3 separate regions of the Homo sapiens genome follow, and regions 2 and 3 are each linked to region 1. The links are contacts of gene promoters, found by promoter capture Hi-C in blood cells and fetal thymus (Javierre and others, 2016). All regions are on one chromosome and are shown on one strand. Each heading gives the region's core, a stretch centred on a gene start or on the middle of the fragment in contact. The rest is flanking DNA. Distances are from core to core; before and after follow the strand shown. Region 1 holds the start of SNAI1 (snail family transcriptional repressor 1). Region 2 has its middle 25 kb from the start of PTPN1. Region 3 has its middle 47 kb from the start of PTPN1.

Region 1 (3,971 bases), core at 822-3,321:
AGTCACCTGTTGCTAGCTGATGCCAAACTTTTCCAAAGTGACTATGCCCACCGACCCTCTCGCCAGCTCTCACCTCCTCATCAACTCTTGATAGTGACCAAATTTTTCCTTGTTGTCCTTCTGATGGGCGTGAAATGGCAGCTCACTGTGGCTTGAATTTGCCATTTCTCTCTTCACTAAACGAGGCTGAGCAGTTAGTGAAGTTGCTGCTGAAACAAAGAATGAAAGGAAGCCAGCGTGAAGATCTAGGAGCAAGAGACGTAGGGGAGAGGAGGAAGAGCAGCAGGTGCCAAGGTGGGAAAGGTCTGGGATGTTGGAGGAACAGAAGGAAGGCTGGGGGTGGGATCCTTGTGCATGGGGGAGGGAGAGAGGCTCAAGCCAATGTCAGCTGGGGTCAGAGCAGCGGGGCCGAGTTGGCTGAGGAGAGGACTTTGGCTTTTACTCTGAGACAGGCGCATGGGAGGGTTTGAGCAGAGGAGGGGGTGATCTGGCCTCACTTTGGCTTCAAGCAAAGGATCCTGATTGGAGCTAAATTGACACGGGACGGGGAGTATTCCGCTTAATGACTGCTTACTGCCTCTGTCCCCCACCCTACTGCCCGCTCTCCAGCTAGAACCAGGGGAGGACGATTTTGTTCACGGCTGTCACACCCGGCACCAAGTGACTAAACAGACAGTAGTTCTGCCCTTCAGGTTGGTGGTGGTGGTGGTGTGGGGTGCTTATAGGTTTTTATAGTCTTCCTTCACAGGTGGAAACAAGAACGGTGAGACCTGTGAGGTTTATTTCAGAGCCACCCCCGGGCCTGGTACGCCTCCCAGGGAAGCTGGGGTGGGGGTGCAGCTGCCCCTCACTTGGGCCCACCCCACATGCATTCAGTCAGGGCCCCTATGGAGCCGTGTTACAGCCTTTAGACACAGGATCGAGGATCTTCACGGGGTGAGGAGACACGCCCGGCCCATGCCTTCTTTCTCCCGCCAGCCTACAGGGATCTTTTTCAACGAAACTCTAACCAGGTCCCTCCTCAGCTGAAAATCCTTCGGTGGCTCCCCAGTGCCCTTGAGGCAAAGTCCAAACTCCTACGAGGCCCTGGGGCCCAGCACATCTGACCCCTCCGGGCATGCCCATCCCACCCCATCCCTGGAAGCTGCTCTCTAGGAGTTACTCTGAAGCAGTTGCCACTTCTTCCCTCGGGCCTTTTCCCTTGATAATTCTTCACTTCCTCTGGGAAGTCACCCCGACCCCCTGTCAGGTGACCCGCCTCTTAACGGTCGCCGCGTCCCGTCTCTCCCCCACCAAAGCACACTTCCCTTTGCATTGTAATTATCTGTTTACTTCGTCTGTCTCCCTCACTGGACCAGAAGCTACCCTTCGGGAGAGGCTCTGAGTGTTCTGTCCGGGGCTGTGCCCTGGCCCCAGGTACAGTGCCCCACACGTGCTGGGCGCTCCGTAAACACTGGATAAGGGAAGGAACGGGTGCTCTTGGCTAGCTGGGCCAGGCTGCTTTGCAAAAAGGCCGTGGCATTTCAAGCCGCCGAGAGCCACGTGCGGTGTCCCTTTCCTCGCTTCCTCCCCAGTGATGTGCGTTTCCCTCGTCAATGCCACGCTCTCCAGGCGCCAGCCGGGCGGAGGAAATTTCCGCCCCCTCCCAAGCCCGAGGCGGGGGCGGGCGTCGGAAGGTCAGGTGTCCCGGCCGGCGCGCAGCGCCAGGGGGCGTCAGAAGCGCTCAGACCACCGGGCGCTGAGCCGGTGGGCGCGCGGCGTCCTGCCGGGGTCCCACCTCGCAGAGGCCTCGCTTCGCTCGACGTCCCGCCCCGGACAGCCCCAGCACCGGGGACGACCCGCGCTGCGCCAGCGAACCCCGCCTCGGAGGAGTCCCCGCCCGGGCTCTCACCGCCACGCGGCGCGAGCCCGGCCAGCAGCCGGCGCACCTGCTCGGGGAGTGGCCTTCGGCGGAGACGAGCCTCCGATTGGCGCGGAGGTGACAAAGGGGCGTGGCAGATAAGGCCCCGCCCCTCCCACCCCCCACCACCCCCCCGGAGTACTTAAGGGAGTTGGCGGCGCTGCTGCATTCATTGCGCCGCGGCACGGCCTAGCGAGTGGTTCTTCTGCGCTACTGCTGCGCGAATCGGCGACCCCAGTGCCTCGACCACTATGCCGCGCTCTTTCCTCGTCAGGAAGCCCTCCGACCCCAATCGGAAGCCTAACTACAGCGAGCTGCAGGACTCTAATCCAGGTGCGTTGGAGGGGTTCTGGGCTCCAGGAGGTTTGGGGGAGACAGGCGAAGGCTGCGTGGGGGGCACCTGAGGGAGGCGGCCTGCCTGAGCCAGGATCGAGTCACAGGATGTTTTGTGGACCATTGCGGGCTCGGGAGACCGGGCAAGTGGGTCCCCAGTTCCGGGGATCTGTCTGGGTGGTTGGGGGAGTGCCGTGTAGAGGGCAGGGGTCTTCAGCTTGGGGGGCCTTTGTAGCCGGCGAGAGGCGGAGGAGCTCCGCAAGAGGGGAAGGAGAGGAGGCCTGTGTCAGGAGGGCCCTCTGGACGCTGCTGGGGAGAGTCCGGAGTCCAGAGGGTTGAGGGGAGGGGTGGGGAGACGAGATGTGTGTGAGGAGGGGGATTGGGGCAGGGTGGTGGCTCCGGGGCTGGGATGATGGGGTTCTGGCCTCAGGCTGGAGACTGGGGACTTAGGAGAGGGAGATCAGGAAATGACCTCCTTCAACTGGGGGTCCTACGTGTGAGAGACTCAGATTGGGTGACCTGGGCGAGGAGGGCAGGAACCTGGTCTGTCCTGTGGATAATTTTTTTGATCTAATTATGTATTGAGAATCGGCCCCACCCAGCCCCTGGCCAGCGGTGGGCTCATGTTTGTTGATTGAGTGAATGATTTAATTAACGCCTGACTCTGCTTTTTCTCCCTCAGAGTTTACCTTCCAGCAGCCCTACGACCAGGCCCACCTGCTGGCAGCCATCCCACCTCCGGAGATCCTCAACCCCACCGCCTCGCTGCCAATGCTCATCTGGGACTCTGTCCTGGCGCCCCAAGCCCAGCCAATTGCCTGGGCCTCCCTTCGGCTCCAGGAGAGTCCCAGGGTGGCAGAGCTGACCTCCCTGTCAGATGAGGACAGTGGGAAAGGCTCCCAGCCCCCCAGCCCACCCTCACCGGCTCCTTCGTCCTTCTCCTCTACTTCAGTCTCTTCCTTGGAGGCCGAGGCCTATGCTGCCTTCCCAGGCTTGGGCCAAGTGCCCAAGCAGCTGGCCCAGCTCTCTGAGGCCAAGGATCTCCAGGCTCGAAAGGCCTTCAACTGCAAATACTGCAACAAGGAATACCTCAGCCTGGGTGCCCTCAAGATGCACATCCGAAGCCACACGCTGCCCTGCGTCTGCGGAACCTGCGGGAAGGCCTTCTCTAGGCCCTGGCTGCTACAAGGCCATGTCCGGACCCACACTGGTACGTGCCCCTCCAGGCGCCCCCACCGTTGCTCTCTCTGGCAGCTTTTGTGAATCTGGGCTTGCTGTTCTCATTCCCAAAGCTGTGGACACTGAGGCCCCGAGTCTTCTAACTTCTAGCTCAAGTTCCAGGGCCTGGCTCTCTGGAAACGTTTGGCAGAAACTTTCTTCATCAGCTAAGCAGATGGGCAAAGCAGACACCTTCCCAATCCCCTGCAGCCTGTTTCTCAGCCAAATGGGTCGGAGCTGGATATGGGAAAGGTGCAACCAACACCTTGCTGTGGGGGCCAGGTGTGAAGGGGCCCACCCGGCCACACCCTCTCCCGGGTCCGCCCCCTCCCTAGCCAGACAGGATGTTGTCAGACCCCCCGCCTGGCTCTGAATCCTTCTTTGAGAACTTTCTCAAAACTTAGGCTGATGTTTCTCTTCTGTGAGCCTCATTTTCTCTATCTTTCAGATGGGCATGAGAACAGCTTTTGGGGTTTCTATACAGGCTAAATGCAGGAATGCATATGGGAAGCACCTGGCA
Region 2 (3,971 bases), core at 475-2,974, 500 kb after region 1:
TCAGGCAGCTCTCTTGAGTGGGCTGAGGAGGATGAGTGAGCACTGATGCTGGCCAGGAAACTTAGGAGAAGGAGGGGAAAGGAAGAAAGGAACAAAACTAACATTTATAAAGTGCAGGGTAGTTGCCAGCCATTAGCACAGTTACTTTCGTTTTCTGATTCCCATTGTACAGTTGAGAAAAACGAGCTCAGAGAGGGAAAGTGACTTGCTCTTGACTATGTGACAGTTAAGTGCTGGAATTCCAGCTCAGATTGAGTCTACAAAGACAGTGTTCTCTATCTCCCTCTTCCTTTTCTCCTTGTCCTCCTCTTCTCTGCTTTTCTCTCCCTCTCCCTCCTCCCCACCACCTTGTTTATTTTTTTTCCAAATAATATTTAGAGTTACCAAGACAGAAGTCAAGAGGAAAGCTTTCTGGTGTCCTTAAAGATGTGCTTTATGAAAGATAGTTTTCATTTGCTCTTTTATTCATTTGACACATTTATTAAGCACCTATGATACGCAATATATAGAAAACAAGACAGACACAATCCTTGCCCCTTAGGCTTTATACTCTAGCAGGAAAAGGAGGCATTAAACAGCTAAATACACATGGCGAGGAGGGGGTAAGGGAAGCCTAGATGGGGAAGTGGGGGAGTGAGATGGGAACAGGAAGGCAGCCATAAAAAGCAATTAGTTGATTACGTTGTGATACAGGTTTCTCAACCTCCGCATTAGTGAAATTTTGACTGGATCATTCCTGTAGGCTGTTCTGGGCATTGTAGGATATTTAGCAGCGTCTCTGGCCTCTACCCACTAGATGCCAGTAGCATTCTTACCCTGGTTTTGACAACCAAAAATGTTTCCAGACATTGTCAAATGGCCCCTGGGGGGCAAAATCACTCCCAGTTGAGAACCACTGTGGTAAATAAGAAAGGCAGATACGAAAACATGTAACAAGGAAACAGAATCTAGGCATACCCACAAGGAAGTGCCTTTAGGACGAGATCCATGTGACAATAGGCATTAGCCAGGCAGAAAGCAGGAATGGCATCCTAAGTAGAGTAGACAGCATGTGCAAAGGCCCTGTAGCCAGACCTGAAAGGATACTGGAGAACAGAGAGTGGCCTGGTGAAATGGGCAGGGCTCAGTTCACACAGGGCCTTAGAGTCTGAGTTATAAATTTTAGCCTTTATCCATGGTCACTTTTCCTTTTTTTTTTTTTTTTTTTTGACACAGTTTCAGTCTTGTTGCCCAGGCTAGAGTGCAATTGTGCAATCTCAGCTCACTGCAACCTCCGCCTCCCAGGTTCAAGCAATTCTCCTGCCTCAGCCTCCCGAGTAGGGATGTGCCACCATGCCTGGCTAATTTTGTATTTTTAGTAGAGACGGGGGTTTCTCCATGTTGGCCAGGCTAGTTTCAAACTCCTGACCTCAGGTGATCTGCCCACCTCGGCCTCCCAAAGTGCTGGGATTACAGGCGTGAGCCACCATGCCCAGCCACTTTTACTTTTAAAATTCATTTCAGCATGGTTAAAATAATAAAAATAAACTAAATGACAACAGACAACATCAAGTGCTGACTAAGATGCAGAGCAACTGGAACTCCCATACACTGGTGGAAATGCACAACGGTAGAGCTTCTTTGGTTGTTTTTTTTTTTCTTTCTTTCTTTCTTTCCTTCCTTCCTTCCTTCCTTCCTTTCCTCTTTCTTTCTTTCTCTCTCTCTTTCTTTCTTTCTTTCTTTCTTTCTTTCTTTCTTTCTTTCTTTCTTTCTTTTTTTGAGACAGAGTCTTGCTCTGTTGCCCAGGTTGAGGTGCAGTGACACAATCTCGGCTCACTGGAACCTCCACCTCCTGGGTACAAGGGATTCTCGTGCCTCAGCCTCCTACAGTACAGCTTCTTTGGAAACAGTTTGGCAGGTTTGTTTGTTTGTTTGTAAAGTTAAACCTACGGTTATCATACAACTCACCAATCCTGGCCAGGCATAGTGGCTTATGCCTATAATCCCAGCACTTTGGGAGGCCAAGATGGGAGGATTGCTTGAGGTCAGGAGTTTGAGACCAGCCTGGTCAACACAGTAAGACCCCGTTTCTATAAAAATAAATAAATAAATAAATAAATAAATAAAGTAAAAATCCCACTTTTAGAAATATACCCAAATGAAATAAAAACTGTTTATTTAATAAAAACACAAAAACCTGTACAAGAACGTTTATAGTGGCTTTATTCATAAAGGCCAAAATATGGGAAACCATCTAAATGCCCCTCTACTGAGGAAAGATTGAACAAACGGCAGTACATCTGTACAATGGAATACTACTCACGAGTAACAAGATGAGAACTCTTTTTTTTTTTGAGATGGAGTTTCGTTCTTATCACCCAGGCTGGAGTGCAGCAGCATGATCTTGGCTCACTGCAACCTCCACCTCCCGTTTGCAAGCAATTCTCCTGCCTCAGCCTCCCGAATAGCTGGGATTACAGGTGCCCGCCACCACGCCCAGCTAATTTTTCTATTTTTAGTAGAGACAGGGTTTCACCATGTTGACCAGGGTGGTTTTGAGCTCCTGACCTCGGGTGATCCACCTGCCTTGGCCTCCAAAGTGTGGGGATGAGAGGCATGAGCCATCGCGCCCAGGTGAGAACTCTTAATACACACGATGATGTAGATGAACCTCCAAAGCATCATGCTGAATTATAGAAGCCAGACTCAGAGGGTACATGTTATATGATTCCATTTATATAGTCTTTTGAAAAAGGGACAACTATAGGAACAGAAAACAGTTAAGTGGTTGCCAAAGGCTGGGAGTGGGCACAAGGGTAGACTACAAAGGGTCCCCAGGAAATTGGGAAGACAATTAATAGAATGGTTCTAAACCTTGACTGTGGTGGTGGTTAGATGACTGTGCATTTGTCAAAAAATACAGAACCCAGTCAGCCAGGTGCGGTGGCTTATACCTGTAATCCCAGCACTTTGGGAGGCTGAACTGGGCAAATCGCTTGAGCCGAGACCAGCCTAGGCAACATAATGAGGCCCCATCTCTACAAAAAATAGAAAAAATTAGTTAAGCTTGGTGGCGCCTGCCTGTAGTGCAGTCCCAGTTACTTGGGACGCTGAGGTGGGAGGATCGCTTGAGCCTAGGTGGTTGAGGCTGCAGTGAACCAAGACTGCACCACTGCACTCCAGCCTGGGCAACAAAGCGAGACCCTGTCTCAAAAAAAAAGAAAAAAGAAAAAAAATCACAGAACTGTATACTAGATAGGATAGATTTTACTGCAGGTAAATAATGCCTTTATTTTTTGAAAGTAAAAAGTTATTATAATGAAGACTCTACAGTAGGTCTATCAGTTGCACATTTGGGGGGAAATCAAGCTGGGTTCTGGTTCAAGGAAAAAATTAAGAAAGGTAAGAAGAAAAAGAAAATAAATTTTAAAATCTAAAAAGAAAAAGAAAATAGTCCGCGTGTGGTGACTCAGGCCTGTAATCTCAGCACTTTGGGAGGCTGAGGCAGGCGGATCACCTGAGGTCAGGAGTTCGAGACCAGCCTGGCCAACATGGTGAAACCCTGTCTCTACTAAAAGTACAAAAATTAGCCGGGTGTGGTGGCCGGCGCCTGTAATCCCAGCTACTCGAGAGGCTTAGGCAGGAGAATTGCTTGAACTCAGGAGGCAGAGGTTGTAGTGAGCCGAGATTACACCACTGCACTCCAGCCTGGGTGACAGGGCAAGACTCTGTTTCAAAAAAAAAAAAAAAAAGATAAAGAAAAAGAAAATAAATCAAGCTTGGTAAGAACTATGAGGTAAATCTTGACTCCCGGGGGGACTCGGGTAACAGGAAGCTAGATGGTGGTCATGCTCACCATTTGAACCACATGTACCTATGAGCAAACGAAAGAAAGATAAGGCAATGCAGACATTTGGTGCTGGTTGACAGGAATGACTGTTTTCCAGCACATACAAAAAAGATTGTTCCAAACAGGTAAATGCAAAAGCACT
Region 3 (3,971 bases), core at 424-2,923, 480 kb after region 1:
ACCTCAACCTTCCAAGTAGTTGGGACTACAGGCACCTGCCATCATATTTAGTAGAGACAGGGTTTTACCATGTTGCCCAGACTGGTTTCAAACTCCTGGACTCAAGTGATCCTCCAACCTTGGCCTCCTAAAGTACTTGGATTACAGGTGTGAGCCACTGCACCCGGCCTGATATATCTATATTTTAAAAATATGTACTTTCATAACATGTATGAGAAACAAATACCTCATTTTCTTAGTATATAAAAATCCCTAGCAGATCAACAAAAAGACAATTATCCAAGAGAAAAATAGACTAACAATTTGAATGCTTTGCCACCAGAAAAGAAATATAAACAGTCTTTGAACGTATTTTTTAAATGTCCAATCTAACATATAAACAATGAATATGTAGATTAGAACTATGGTGAACACCTTTTTCCCCTATCGGCAAGGCCAAGATCAAGAAGTCCAATCATACTTGGCCTTGGCTAGGACGTGGGGAAACCAGAGCTCACGGAGGTTGCCGGTGCAAATGACGATTGGTAGGTACAACCTTAGAGAGCATTTAGACAACCAGCGTCAAAATGTTTAAACGCACCTGCCCTATGACTGGGCGATTCAGTTGCTAAGAATGTATCCATCAGAAATAGCTCTGAATACATGGAAAGACTTCTGTGAAAGGGATACTAATTGCAGCATTGTTTGTTGCAGAAAAACCCTGGAAATACCTCCGTGACTATCACCAGAAAACTTGTTAGATAAATTATTATATTCAGACAATGGAATGTGCAAAGAATGCTCTCCTAGTGCTGATCTGGAAAGATCTGCCAAGGTACATTGCTAAGTTGAAAAAAACAAAATCCCAGTGCAGAACAGGGTGTGTGGTGTGCTTCTATTTAGAGAAATGAGTACAGGAATCCACGCACATATTTGCTTATCTGTGTTCTGGATGTCTCTGTAATGATCCCCAAGAAATGATAACCAGAATGGATTCTGGGGAGGGAAGCTTGGAGTTTTAAAGCTGGGGATGGGGGTTAAGGATTAGAGGGAGAAGACCCACTGTAAATCTTTTGGTATCTTTTGAATTTTTGCATATGAATACAATCCCTTGTTAGTTTTTAAAAATGGAACTTTTTAATGCATTGATAGATGACAGAGAGAAAAATGCCTTGAAGGATATGCTCCAACGTGTCAATAGCACTTATCTCTGGGTGGCTGATGTGAATTAGAAGCGACTTTTATTTTGTTCTTTTTTTATTATTTCTCTAATCAATTATTTATTTTGAGACAAGATCTTGCTCTATCACCCAGGCTGGAGTGCAGTGATGCGATCACCACTCATTGAAACCTCTGCCTCCTGGGCTTAAGTGATCCTCCCAGCTTAGCCTCCTGAGTGGCTGGGACTATAGGCACTTGCCACCATGCCTGGCTGATTTTTTATTTTTAATTAAATTTTTTTTTGTAAAGACGAAGTCTCACTAAGTTGCCCAAGCTGGTTTTGAACTCCTGGGCTCAAACGATCCCTCTGTTTCAGCTTCCCAAAGTGCTAGGATTACAGGTGTGAGCCACTGTGCCCGGTCTGTTCTTTTTAAAAAATACAGAGACAGGGTCTCACTTTGTCACCTAGGCTAGAGTACAGTGGCATAATCATAGCACCCTGCAGCCTTGATCTTCTAGGCTCAAGTGATCCTCCAGCTTCAGCCTCCCAAGTAGCTGGGACCACAGGCATGCACCACCACTTCTGGCTATATTTTGTTCTTTTTACTTAGATTTTCTAATTTAAAAAAATAATTACCAGCCGGGTGTGGTGGCCCATGCCTGTAAATCCTAGCACTCTAGGAGGCCGAGGCAGGAGGATCATTTGAGCCCAGGAGTTTGAGACCAGCCTGGGCAACATAGTGAAACCGCGTCTTTACTAAAAATACAAAAAAAAAAAAAAATTAGCTGGGTGTGGTGGTGCTCACCTGTAGTCCCAGCTACTCAGAAGGCTGAGGCAGGAGAATCACTTGAACCTGGGAGGCAGAGGTTACAGTGAGCCCAGATCACACCACTGCACTCCAGCCTGGGCAACAGAGCGAGACTCCGTCTTAAAATAAAATAAAATAAAATAAAATAAATAATTATCAAGGTATATTCAGATAATTTTTTTAAAAATTAAGTAAGTAAACACCTCAGTGTTCTCTTGGTAGTCAGGGGAAAACTAACTTCTACATGAAAAAAAGAAAAGACCAAAAACACATACACTTCTCTAAACAGGCAGATTATTTTCATTGCCAAGGACATTACAGAGACTGAGGAGTGGGTTGGAAATATATTCTATGAAAAATCGAGAATTAATACAACTGTCCTACCATGCACTTTCTGGGCATCAAAACGCCAAGCTTCTAACTCAGACCTGAGTTCAAACTCTGACTGCCACTTACTAGCTGGGCAAGTTGCTCCTACGCCGTTGGCCTCAGTTTCCTCATCTGTAGTCTGAGACCACATTGCTGCTGGCAGGCTCGAGTGAGATCATGCCTGTGAAGTACTTGGCTCAGGCGTACTCAGAGACCCAGTTCAAACAGGGAACAGGCAGAAATTCTGCACCCCGCAAGGGTGACAGGGCGGAGGGAGGACAGGAGGGGCCGCTTTGCCGGACTGGGGATCAGTGTGCAACTAGCTGGGCCCGGAGTCCCCCACAAACCGGCCAGCTCAGAGGTTCTTCCGACAGTTTGGAGAGAGTGACACCAAGTGGCCAAGTCTGAAACTACACCTTCAAGCCGGAGGGTTAGAGCCTCTCCCCGACCCCTCCAGCTGCGGTCCTGAGCCAGGCACTGAACTTCCCTGAATCTGAGTTTTTTCAGCTGCGAAATGGAGGTAATCCTGCCTACCTGGCAGAGCGGAGGTGGGAATTAAATGAGGTAACCCGCAGAGATTCTCTCCAGGACCGCCATGTTGCACAACTTCAGGGGCCCCATTCATGAAACTGTGCAACATAGCGGCACCCCTAACAGGTGGCTGTCATTATCATCCCTCCCTCAGACACTGAGTTTCCTTCTCTACTCCCCTAGAGCGATTCTGAAGCTGGGTCTTCCAAAGTATAGAACAAATACCAGTGGGATTCGTGGGGAGATCTTGGTGGGCACAGCACCCCAGTATCAAATAACATTTCATTCTCTGTCAATCATTCTGATGGCATCTAGGCGGCAGTCTCAGTTTGATAGGAACATGACATTAACGCCTTTCTAACACTTACCTGCCTCCCTTCCGAACTTTCTGTTTGAGAGTGGGCCTCAGACTTAGTGCCTTCAGAAGGCAAAATTATTTGGCTAGAATTTAATAAAGTTACATGTTTTCATAATATTTACTTTTTGTGGTCACCTTCTATTGAGAGCAAGTGGTGCTGGTTTTCCCTTTACAGTAGATGTGGTAGATTGTATTATTGTCAAAGTATTTATCCCATTGGCAATTCCCTGGTGACCCTCCCGGCTGAAGTCAGGCTTGGCTGTGTGACTTCCTTTGGGCAACAGAGTGTGAGCTAAGCTTTCGAGAAGCGGCTTTGTCATGTGGTTTATCTCTGCTGTGAGAATGGCCTGCCCCAGGAATGGGCTGCACCTTTAACCTGGATCAGAGTAAAGATGACATACGGCCCAGAGCTGCAGTGACCCACAACCAACAAGTAATGAGAAAATAACTGAGGATTCATATTCTCAATATGAATAAGAAATCGACCTTTGTCATTAACAAGCTCCTGAGATGCTGGGGCTGTTTGTTATTGCAGTAAAACATAGCTCGAGTTGGCTGATGCAGTAGAGTTATTAAGTTTCCTTTAAAAATAAATATACTGGGCCGGGTGCAGTGGCTCACGCTTGTAATCCCAGCACTTTGGGAGGCTGAGGTGGGTGGATCACGAGGTCAGGAGTTCAAGACCATCTTGGCCAATATGGTGAAACCCTGTCTCTACTAAAAATACAAAAATTAGCTGGGTGTGATGGCACGCGCTTGTACTC

Evidence for each region. Contacts are between HindIII fragments. The CHiCAGO score rates a contact against its expected background, and 5 or more counts as called.
Region 2: a contact is called between a fragment that was not itself captured here and the fragment with the promoter of SNAI1 in region 1, in 1 of 17 cell types (monocytes). The highest score is 6.1, in monocytes.
Region 3: a contact is called between a fragment that was not itself captured here and the fragment with the promoter of SNAI1 in region 1, in 3 of 17 cell types (activated CD4 T cells, naive CD8 T cells and endothelial precursors). The highest score is 6.6, in activated CD4 T cells.

What each region holds. Positions count from the first base shown.
Region 1 is chr20:49,980,909-49,984,879 of GRCh38, forward strand. It overlaps SNAI1 (snail family transcriptional repressor 1), which reads left to right and starts at 2,072. Exons shown (of 3, transcript NM_005985.4): 1 at 2,072-2,233; 2 at 2,916-3,443. The coding sequence starts at 2,152. RefSeq lists an enhancer at 477-1,414 and a silencer at 1,567-2,086. The HindIII fragment of the contact is 8,892 bases long and covers 1-3,971 here.
Region 2 is chr20:50,483,728-50,487,698 of GRCh38, forward strand. No RefSeq gene overlaps it. Among named protein-coding and RNA genes, the nearest start is that of PTPN1, 25 kb to the right of the region's middle. RefSeq lists enhancers at 55-104, 145-254. The HindIII fragment of the contact is 2,638 bases long and covers 406-3,043 here.
Region 3 is chr20:50,461,718-50,465,688 of GRCh38, forward strand. No RefSeq gene overlaps it. Among named protein-coding and RNA genes, the nearest start is that of PTPN1, 47 kb to the right of the region's middle. The HindIII fragment of the contact is 1,375 bases long and covers 987-2,361 here.